Linked DNA regions of Homo sapiens: region 1 is linked to region 2. Evidence: promoter capture Hi-C in human tissues and cell types (Jung and others, 2019). All regions are on one chromosome and are shown on one strand. The core of a region is centred on a gene start or on the middle of the fragment in contact, and the rest is flanking DNA. Distances in the headings are between cores, read along the strand shown.

Region 1 (5,846 bases), core at 2,856-5,355, 55 kb before region 2:
ACTGAGGACCTGCTAAGTGCTGGGCATGGAGCTCAGTACCGGGGACATGGCCAAAAATAGGCAGCCTCAGTCTCAGCTGCAGAGGAGCTTCCTCCCAGCCGTTCACACACAGTTAGAGTCCATGGAAGGGAGAAAATCCTGCGGCAATAAGTACGCAAAGTCCATGGCATTGTGCAGCCATGTGGCGGAGGGGGGCCTGTCCTCACCTGGGTGCCAGGGAGGGCTTCTTGGAGGAGGTGCCCCATTCATTCATTTATTCATTCGTTCAACAAATGTTGAGAGCCTGTTCTGAGCCAGACCTAAGCAGGCCTCTGTGGAAGGGGTTTAGCAGTGATCAAAATAGTGTGCTGTTCTCCTGCACCTTGGGATGCAGGGGAGGGAAAGAAGAACCCCCCCACACACACACACACACACATTCACTCCCCCGTCTATGGACTCACAACCCACGCTACACACATGCCATGCACATGCACACACACGCACGCACACACACATGCACACACGCATGCAAACATAAAATGTGAGGAGGAAAGGGATGTTCTAAAGGGAAAGAAAGCAAGGAAACCGTTACATTAAGGAACAGGACTCGAGAGGGTGCCGCAGGAAATGGTCCAGGTTTTCCCCCAGTGCCCCTTCAGACCTGCCCTCTGGGTGTGCAGGAGCCGGCTCACCCAATTCACACGGGCTCACCAGGACTCAGCTCACCCGAGCCAATTGTATCTTCCCAAGTATGCATTCAGTGACATCACCCTGGGAGCTTAAAATGGGCCATGATGGGAAGGTTTACACCTCCGCAATTGGCAAACACTCTAAGTCAGCTTTCATGTGTTTTCTTTCCAAGGGCCAGTTTACCCACCCACCACTGTCTGGGGCTGGCTCTTCTCAGCCCCTTGGGTAATTCTAGGGCAGGCCTCATGACTTCCTGGTCGTCTCATAATGAAAGCTTTCCCAGCCACTTTTAATCACAAAAACATGGTCTCATGTGGATCACTGAAATGTCCAGTCCCACGCACGTCTTCACTGAAAACCGTCATCTTCCTGGCTTCACCGGCCCAGCCAGCCCCAGGCTGAGGCCTCGGAGTGGGAAGGGGGCCGAGGGCCCCTGGCTCTGGGTCTCTCTGCTTCTGCTTCTCTTCCCTCTCCCCTCCCCAATCTCTAGGCTTCCCCCGGACCCTCCAAGGTTGGGGAGAGGCCAGCAGGGCAGGGAGGTCAGGCTTGGTGGGCGGGCGCTAGGTGATCTGGTGGGCTTCTATCCCCCCAGCTGGGGCAGATGTTTAAAGCTGACTCATTTGAGGGTACTCTTGTGGATTGTTTAGTCCATGGGGTAATGAAAACATCCAAATTGGACCCCATGAGCACATGTGTCTGATAGCGAAAGCTTGGGACCCCTCACTCCTGCCAGTTCCTGCCCAACAGCCCACTTCCTATCCACAGGAAATCCCCCACACCCTTCTTCCATCCTCACCACCCACCCTCATCATCTCTGCTGGTGGTGGGGTCAGTTCTCACTCAGGACAGCCGCACTCCACTGCACAGGACACTTATGCCACCCTCTTGCCAGATGCCTTTGAAGAAAGAGTCAGACTGGTCCACCCTCCCCCAGCCCCTGGGGCTCCTTGAGCCTCTCTCCAGCCTTGGCAGGAGGAGGAAAAGCAGCACCTCCCTCAGACAGCTGGAAAGGCCCTCTTCCTTCCCAGCTCAGTGGGTCCGGCCAAGGGTCACCAGACGGGTATTTGTCCCCACCTCCCTACCAACCCCAAGAACACACTCCACACCCCTCTTCGCTGCTGCGGTGTGAAGCTTCAGCCTAACCCAATCCCACAGAGTCCATCTCGACAGCCTGGGATGACATGGGTTCCCCAGAGGGGGACAGAGTGCTGGGTGTGGGTGCCAGTTTAGACCCAGGGGGCAGACTTAGAGGAAGCCTCCCAGAGGTGTCTCAGCAGAGAACTAAACCCAGAAACAAGCCCGAAACGCATTCCCATTCTCCAAGCATCAAAAGGCTGGACTATTCAAAACAAACAAAGAGCTAACCTTTTTAGAAAAACAGGCCCAGTGACCATTCAGCCTCTCATTCGTAGTCATCGTTCGCGGTCGTAACTGCTACTTACCGAGAGGTGCTTCGCTGCGGGCGTCGGGCTGGGTGCGTCCTTTACAGACAGGCCATAAGTGAGCACGTGGACTCGCTGTGGGAATTCATATTTCTTCTGCAAGGAAGAATGACTCATATCCAAACTCACTCAGCTGCCAAGGGGGAGGAGGGATTCGAACCCCCATCTTCTACGCTCCCAAACGCATGCCCATAATCCTCCTGTCCCCATGGAATTATCTAGTGGAGAAAAAATATTGATCAGCAAAAAGAGAAAGAAAAATGATAGAACTTCCTAATATGCCAAACATTGTCATCCCGCTTAAGACTAAAGCTCTGTTTCATCCTAAACTCCAAATGCCAACGTGCTCACTGACTTGACGAACGTTGGTTAGGCCTCGTGCATGCGAGGGAGCGTGGTGGTTGCAGGGGGCTGTCGTGACCTATACTTTTCACTCCCACCCCTTCTTTTTCTTTGTAAAGCTATATACCAACTTCAGTTTTTAGAATAAGGAGAGTGCTTTTTGTTGTTGTTGTTTCTTTTTTTTTTTTAGCTCTATCAGAAGAAATTAAACAGAAACAGAATGGAAAATAAAGTGTATTTTTAAATAAACTGAGGACGTGGTTCCCATTGTCCCCCGGAACCTGGTCCATTTAAAGCGGCCTCATTATTTTTAATGCATCCACTTCCTGGTCCCTCTCTTCCTCGGTTTTTCCCATGTCGATCGTCTGAGAAATTCCAGCGGTGACATTTGTTAAACATCAGCCCAAGGCTGGGCAAGGCCTCGGGAGCCAGGCTCTTGCCCAGGAAGGCTCCAGAGACTGAAGCCAGAGCCCTGTAAACTCATCCCTCTGTGTCCACTGCCCTGCCAGGAGCCCCTTCACATCCCACTGCCTGTGACATTCACAGGCAGGAGCGTGCGAACTGAATCCCAAAGAGTGCGCAGAGTATTTTAAAACTGAGCTGCTGTCACACAAGAACTTGTTCCCCCAAAGACCAGAATGTCCAAAAAAAGGAGCAGACGAAACCAAGCATAAGGTGTGCTGCTGTGTGCTCAGATCAGACCCAAACTGAGAGAGTCCTGCTTCTCCCTGGGGTTGGGCCCCTTCCCTCCTTGCTCCACTTCCTGCCGCTTTGACATCTCACGTTGGGCAGAAATCCCAGAGGAAAAAATGCTTTCCGAGACAGGCCCATGGAAGGCCCAACTCACCCTCTGGGACTTATTCAACTTGGATTCATCTGTCTGCTTTTGCCTCTATTTTAACCAAAAGACCCCATGAAGGTAGGGTCTTGGTATGGCCTCTTCACGACTCTGGACCTCAGCACACATCAAGGTTCTGGCACACAGTAGGTGCTCAATAAGGACTTACTGAATGGAAGCCGGGTGTGGTGGCTCACGCCTGTCATCCCAGCACTTTGGGAGGCCGAGGCAAGTGGATCACGTGAGGTCAGGAGTTCAAGACCAACCTGGCCAACATGGTGAAACCCCGTCTCTACCAAAAATACAAAAATTAGCCGGACGTGGTGGCAGGTGCCTCTAGTCCCAGCTACTTGGGAGGCTGAGGCAGATGAATTGCTCAAGCCTGGGAGACGGGAGATGGAGGTTGCAGTGAGCCGAGATCATGCCACTGTACTCCAGCCTTGGCAACAGAGTGAGACTCCATCTCAAAAAAAAAAAAGAATGCAAGAGTGAAGCCACTGATGGCCCCATAGAGCCAGCCTCACCTAGCTTGCTTTCCCCCAAATTTGAGTGTGTTCACTTAGTGGGTGTGGCAAGCAGAATCACGACCCCCAAAGATGTCTGTGTCCTGATCCCCAGAACCCGTGAATCTCTTTTATTACACTTCAAGGAGGAGTTAAGGCTGTAGATGGAATCAAGGCTGCTAATCAGCTGACCTTGAGGCAGGGAGATAGCCCCAGACTATCTGGTGGGCCCAACATCATCACAGGGAGCTTATAAGTAAGAGGAGGCAGGGGAAGCAGAGTCGGGGAAGACATGAGGACAGAAACAGAGGTCAGAGGGATGCACTGCCAGCTTGAGATGGAGGCAGGGGCCACAAGGCAAGGACTGCAGGTGGCCTCTAGAAGCTGGAGAAGGCAAGGAAACAAGCTCTCCCTGGAACCTCCAGAAGGAACAGCCCTGCTGACACCTTAGCTTTAGCCCAGTGAGATCCATGCCGGACTTCTGGAATTTAAGATAATAATCATGTGCTGTTTTAAGCCACTAAGCTTTGTTGATCTCCCGCTGCACAGTGGGAAACTCGTGCGCTGGGAGATGAGGGGAAATGCATGCCATGGCTCTGAGGCTTAATCATTGTTGGACCGGCATGTGTTAGTGCCTGCACCTTTCCGCATTGACTCCATTTAGCAGGAGCATGGCCATGTATAAGTCAGACTCAGTCTCTGCCCTCCAGAGCTCGCCATTTGGGAGATCCCAGGCTAAACCATGTCTAGTGGATTTGTTCATGGCACGTCTTGTCAGAGGCTTCTTAGATGCCAACACAATGAATGTCCAACAGTGCAGAATATAGCCTTCCCCAAATGTAGATGACCATGGAGCATTTTGGGTGGGAGTAGGGGCACTTTCTTTACTTCTAGGGGTGAGATTCGGCCCAGTACTGAGATGGTCTAGTCGCTGCCAACATCAGGGCTTAGGGAAGTTGGCTTTTGTTCTGTCCTGGTTTAGGAGTTGTAGCCTCATGCTCACACTGCAAGGCTGCCCATTGGGGAAGATCTGTTTCTTTTAAGAAATGCCAAATATTTAAACCATCAGTAGATGGTTAAACAATAAAGGCCATGTTAATGTACCTTTCCTTCCCAGCATCTGCATAGGAGTGTGTGTCTTTATCCCAGCCATGTGTGGGCCAAGAATCAAAGAAAGAAAAGAGTGGTGAGAAGAGGATGGGGAAGAAGACTGGCCTGTAGTTGCTCTGTGCTTTACATTTCAGGGATTTCAAGTTTACCAAAGTCTTGTCGAGAAAATGCAGGTGGTTCACTGCAACCTACCAATACTATCCAGGATTGCTTGGGTTGTAAAAGACAGAAAACCCAAGACCAGCTTCAGACATAGCTGAATCCGGGGGTCTAATGTTTCCAAATCTCCATCTCTCTCCTCCTCTTGGCTCTGCTGTTCTTTGGGTTGGGTCCACCCTCAGGACTACTCTCTTAGTGTCCAGATGGCAGGCACAGCTCCTGGCTTTCACCTTGGGCAGCCCCAGTGGACAGAGAGCTTGCCCCTGGGCACTCCAGCAGGGAGCCCAAGGCTATCTCTGACGGTCCTGCCTGAGGTCTTTGACCCTCCCTAAATGAGTCGCAATGGCCTGGGGGATGCTTAGCTGTGTGTACCCACTAGCAGATCCCTGAGACCATCTGGAGCGGGGGGACACATAGCCCATAAACCACATGGGCTGAAAGGGGGCAGTGGTGTTTCCTTAAGGAAAACCAGGACAAGAACGGCACAAGGGAGGGAGTGAGTGCCGGGCAGAAGACATTCGCCCGCTAGACCTGCTTCCCCTGCAGAGAATAGCTCTTCTCAACGGAGCTTCAGACAGTGGCCCAAAGAGTGGTCCCAGCTAAGGTTTCTTATGCCAGTGATGGGCTTGGCACTGTGCCAAGGGCTCCCTGGGCACCGTCTGCTTTCATCCTTGCAATACCCCTGGGAAGCTGGAGTTTGTGGCCCTCTCCCCAGTTCACAGATGGGGAAACTCGGGCTCAGAGACCTTGATTTTGACTCGGGCTCCCAAGTTCTTCGCCACC
Region 2 (5,491 bases), core at 2,630-5,129:
TTCTAGATTGTGTGTTGAATTCATGGAGTGAGCTCTGGTTTGAGGGGTGGGGGTCAGGAGAGCTAGACTGAAAGCCTAGTTTGCTCTCCTGCCTGACCTTAAGCCAAGTACATCACCTCTCCAGGTGTGTGCACCTGTGAAATGGGGACTGATAAAGCTGGCCCCCCCAGGTCCAGTTGACATGCAGGTGAGGGCTGCTGAGAAATCTGAGAGCAGTGGTGCTCAACTGGGGCTGGTTTTGTCCCCTGGAGGATATTTGACAACATCAAGAAACATTTTTAGTTGTCACACTGGGGCTGGAGGCAGAGGGTGCTGCTGGCATCTCATGGGTGGGTAGAGGTCACCAGGGTGCCTGCAAAATGTCCCACACTGCACAAGCCAGCTCCCACCACAGAGGATGATCCAGCCCCACACATCCACTGTGCTGAGACATCCACTGTGCCCCACGCTAGAGCTCCTTTATTAGAAGAGACCTTTGCCTCCCTGGCCTGGACTCACCACCGCCAGGCGCTGGGCCTCTTGGTCCTCGCCTACCATCCAAAGGGAGACACTTCAGCCTCACTTTACAAAAGAGGAAATCTAGGCACACCAAGGCCATGCGGTTGGTTAATGGGGAGCGAGGTTCTTGTTCCGGTCCATGGTCTTGGTAACCAGTCCCTGTGTCTCCATAATTTGGGGCACCTCGTTCTTCCTCCCTTTGTAAAGTTTGGTTTGTTCAACTTCCCACTGAGTTGCAGACAGCTTGGCCCGTGCTCTGAGGTATTCTTCCCTGTGGGCAATGCCAACGGGATGGAAATAAAATATCGTTGAAAAGGGCTCCCCTGTGCTGCCTCCTACCAGGAAGCCACCCTCCTGACAGCTTGTTGGTCTGCGCTCCTTGTCACCTGATGCTTGCATCCCCGGTGACTATTAAAATGTCCGCAAAGTGCTCGCTTCGGCAGCACGTATACTAAAATTGGAATGATACAGAGAAGATTAGTATGGCCCCTGCGCAAAGATGACACGCAAATTCATGAAGCATTCCATATTTAAAAAAAAAAAAAAATCAGCAAAGACACCTGTACCTGTATCTGTTGGCACATGCCATCAAATGACACTGAAGAGCAACACTGTGGCCAAACAGGCCAGCTGGGAGGCCCGGAGCTTCCCATAATGAAATGCACCATCTAGACGAATTAGACAAGGGTTTTACTAATTCATGAGCAGGGAATTAATCCTGCCCACAAAATCTGTCCCTGTGGGGTTTTAGTGATAAAAATCACTGAGACAAAAAGAAAACTGGGTGCAACAGTTTATGGAGAGCCCCCACGTATAAGCAGTTAGTGACTGGAGTGGAGAGAGAATCCCAGCAAAGTGACCCATAGGACACAGGCGGGGACAGGGAACCAGAGAAGAGAACCATCTATGGAACAAAAAGGACCCTGTAAACTTGTCCTGGCTTGGGAGATATCTCCAGCTACAGGAATTCTTTTCCCGCTCCTATTTTGGGGGGCTATTGTTTTTACTTTGTGTCGGTCCCTGAAATCCCTAGACCCACGAACCCCCGGCGAAGGCCACGAGAGGCCTGGAGGCAGAACTGGTCCTCTCTGGCCCTTGCTGCACAGAGGCCACGCTGCATTTCCTCTGCCCTTGCTGTGGCATGTCCACACTGTCCACCTGGGAAGACTTGGGGAAGGGGCGAGAGGAAACAGAATGTGGGGATACTGGAGAGAAAAAAAGAAACATAGTGGCAATAGCAAAGAAAGTGGAGTCTTACAGGCAAGCAGATGCCCTGAGCCTGGCTACAGTATAAATCACAGAAACTAGAGGTTAAGCACTGTTTCTTGAGTAAAGCCGCAAGGGGTGCTGTTGGGGAGAAGGTGGGGCCACCTTGCCTAGGAGATGGCCCCCCAGCAGGCAGCCCCCAAGCCCCAGAGCCCTCTCAGGCCAGAAATGTCACTTCCCAAACCTTTGGGAGCACCAGTGTGTCCAGATTTGGCCAAGTATATTTTTACTCTTTTTTTTTTTTCATGCAAACTGCACCTCATAGAGCTCTGGAAGGTCTGTTGGCACTCGAACACAAATTTGAAAAGACAGTACATTAGTATTACACAATGTTGGTTGTTTACCAACAAAGATAAGTGGATGGAGTTACATAATCCTCTGTACATGCGTGTGGGATTCTCCCAGCCCTGGACACTTGAACTTTTAAGGAGCAGAGGCTGTGGAGCACTGTTCCTGGCATGGATTTGGCCAGCCTGGGGCACTTCTCCAAACCCTCTCTCGCTGTCCAAGGTGCAGACAAAGGGTCCTTTAGGGCCACTCAGTGCCCGTTGGCACCACCAGCCTGAGAACCAAATAGCCTTCCTGCACCGCCCCAAGTTCAAGGAAGTCACAGACTTGTGCCTAAATGGGAGAGTCTCACTGAGGCACCAGGAAAGGGTAGGTCATGACAAGATGACATTAGTAGTGACAACAGTCACCATTGCTAAGCCTGGCAGCTTCAGGCACGCTTAAAACTCCCATGAGAAGGCAGAGGCTCTGAGGCCCAGGAGGCTCTGAGGCCAAGGAGGCTGGCACAAGGTCACAAGGCTGGAAGGTGCCAGAGCTGGAGCTAGACCCCACCCCTTCTCTCCAACCCTATCCTAGCTGACTCCAGGTTCCATGCTTGGAACCATGGCACGCTGACGACATCGTGGCCTTTAAAGACAATTTTCTAATCACTTCTGTAGGCCTTGAATGTTCCCCAGTGGCCATTTAACAAGCAATTATTGAGCATCGGCTGTGTGAACCTGGTAGACAACCCACTGTAAAATGAGACGGAATAAATGAAGTGCTAGTTGGGGTTCAGGCAGGTTCTTTGGATAGACAGGAAGGCCTGCATATTTGGGTGGGAAGGGGACAGTAGGGGAGAATCCAGCAGGACTTCCTGCAGGAGGTGCTATCTGATGCACACCGTGAAGAACTCATAGGATGTGAGAGGCAGAGGGACACTTTATTTCCACTGGATGTGGTGGCCAGCATGGCCCCTGGGGCTTAACCTGAGTATGGTCGTCCCCTGGGGACCTGCCTTATTCTCCTTAGGGGAAGAAGACTTGAAGATCTGCAGTGTGCCAGACCCCTGCTAGGTCCGGGGGTAAGAGAGATCAAAGCCACCATCCCCCCCGCTCCGCCCCTCCAGAAAGCAGGACAGCCTTGCCCAGCAGTGGGGAAAGCTCTGCAGGAGCCCCGCCCCACCTCAGAGGATGCGGACTGGTCCTTGGCCCTCCTAAGCCTGAGTGTCCTCTGCAAAATGAGGACCCGCATTCCAACCTTGCAGGTGCGGGGTTAAATGAGATGATACACACTCACGCCCTACATCAGGGACGCTGCACGCACCTGGGCACAGAACACTAAGCACTCCGTAAACTCGGGGGCACCGGTAACATCAGTGGGCTCCAGGGAGATGACTGCCCCGGGAGAGACTCCCCCAGGAGCGCGGGCAGCTGGAGGGGGCGGGTCGGCAGGAACCAGGCAAGCTCCCCGGAGGAGGTGAGTGCTGAGTGACAGCAGGAGTTTGCCAGGGTGGAGGGAAAGGGGCAGAGATCCAGACTCCAATCTCAGAAGCTTCACTCCCCCCGGAGGCGGAGGTGACGCGCCACAGAAGCGCCTGCCACTCGGGGACTTTATTTCAGGTGGGGCTATTGAAAGTTCCCCCCTTTCACACCCGGTATGAAAACCCTCAAAAATCCAAAGGGGCACTTTCCCTGGATAAAAATAAAACTTGGAGGGGCCCGCAGGAATGGAATACTTTTTCTTCCTGTGTTTAAATTTCTACGGAAAATCTGACCGGCGCGGCCACCGCCCCTGCCATAGGCGGGCGGAGAGCGCTTATATCTTTAAGGCAAAGGCGGGCCGGCTGGCGTCCAAGTTCCTGACCAGGCGCGGGCCGGCCCGCGGGACCAGCAGCCGGGTGGCGGCGCGATCGGCCCCGAGAGGCTCAGGCGCCCCCCGCATCGAGCGCGCGGGCCGGGCGGGCCAGGGCGGCGGGCGGAGCGGGAGGCGGCCACGTCCCCGGCGGGCCTGGGCGCGGGGAGGCCCGGCCCCCTGCGAGCGCGCCGCGAACGCTGCGGTCTCCGCCCGCAGAGGCCGCCGGGGCCGTGGATGGGGAGGGCGCGCCGCCCGGCGGTCCCAGCGCACAGGCGGCCACGATGAGGGTCAACGAGAAGTACTCGACGCTCCCGGCCGAGGACCGCAGCGTCCACATCATCAACATCTGCGCCATCGAGGACATCGGCTACCTGCCGTCCGAGGGCACGGTGAGTGCGGGCGGCCGCGACCCGGGCGGGAGGGCCGCGCACCTGCGCCTTGGCGAGGGCGGGAACCGGGCGGCGGCAGGGCCTCCTGGGACCCCAGGGCGGGGGCCGCACCCTCCGCGCAGGGTTCGCGGCGCCCACCCGCGCACGTGCGTGCCGGGAAGGGCGCGCCGGCCCTGGCCAAGTGCGTGCGCCCCGCCTGCGCTCTGAGCGTTCCGAGCGCGGCGCCCACTCCGCCCAGCGCAGCGCCGGGCCCCCAGGCATGGCCCGGCCTCGGAGCTCTGCGGCCCCGAAGCCGCCTCACCCGGGGCTGCAGCTCGGAGCCCAACCAAGAGCTCACGGCTGGCGCCCTGGATGGGACCTTCCCTTCCTGGCTCGCGGCCAGGGGTACCTGTTGGGGCAGCCAGGGTGAGGGTGATGGTGGGGGTCTTGGGTGAAGGCCAAGTTGGTCGCCACTCCACGATGATGGTAACTGCCAGGCCCCACTGCTTCACTATCCTCTGGGGCCAGAGTCCCGAGTCCTCACTTGCCAGAAACGCATATTGTGCCCAGGGCACTGGGCCTGGTACCCTGGCATTGGCACCGAAACTCTCAAAGCCCAGGGTGTCAATCATTGGAGATTGCTTTCTACCCTCGCCCCTGTCTCCCCTGGGCGCCCAGGCCTGGTTCAGGTGGGGGCACTGGTTGGAAGCCAGTCATGTAAGTTGGGGACCCCATCCTGAGGTCCCCAATATCCCCACCACCCTCCCCAGGGCCAGACCCAGAGGTCTAGGTAACCCTATGTTTTAGAGAGGGGGGCAGAATTCTCCCAGGAAGGGTTTGGCTTGAAGGACAAAGTTTGCCGGAAGAGGATAGGACAGGGCTGGGACTGGCTATCTCCTCTTGGGGTGAGGGAAGCTCTCAGCAGCAATTTGTGGGACCTAAGGACAGAAGCTCCCTTCTACCTTCTTCCCATGCAGACCCCATCAAAGCCCCTCCCCAGGCGTCAGGCCCAGCAGGGCTGCTTCAAGCAGGATGAGGATGGCCCTGGCCTGTCCCTCTAGTCTCTGGAGCTCACAGAGAGGCAGGGAATGAAGCGGGAGCAAAGCTCCTGCTTTGAGTCTCTGTTCCAGCGACAGCAGGGACTCTGGCCTTGGTCAGGCCTTGCACCCCTTGGGTCACAGTGGAGGGGGGTGGCCTGGGGGCATCTCTTCAGGAAATGAGATTGCACAGAGCTG

The links. The method cuts DNA at HindIII sites, captures the fragments that hold promoters and counts their contacts. A contact is called where the count stands out against the background at its distance.
Region 1: a fragment that was not itself captured here is called in contact with the fragment with the promoter of ANO1 in region 2 in 3 of the 25 tissues and cell types used here (IMR-90 fibroblasts, stomach and thymus).

Annotation. Positions count from the first base shown.
Region 1 is chr11:70,018,849-70,024,694 of GRCh38, forward strand. It overlaps a transcript of ANO1 not described here. Among named protein-coding and RNA genes, the nearest start is that of LINC02753, 44 kb to the right of the region's middle. The HindIII fragment of the contact is 5,891 bases long and covers 1,161-5,846 here.
Region 2 is chr11:70,074,438-70,079,928 of GRCh38, forward strand. ANO1 (anoctamin 1) reads left to right here and starts at 3,880. Exons shown (of 26, transcript NM_018043.7): 1 at 3,880-4,277. The coding sequence starts at 4,170. It overlaps LINC02584 (long intergenic non-protein coding RNA 2584), which reads right to left and starts at 911. Exons shown (of 3, transcript NR_103835.1): 1 at 885-911; 2 at 499-769. It also overlaps the pseudogene RNU6-1175P. The HindIII fragment of the contact is 18,532 bases long and covers 1-5,491 here.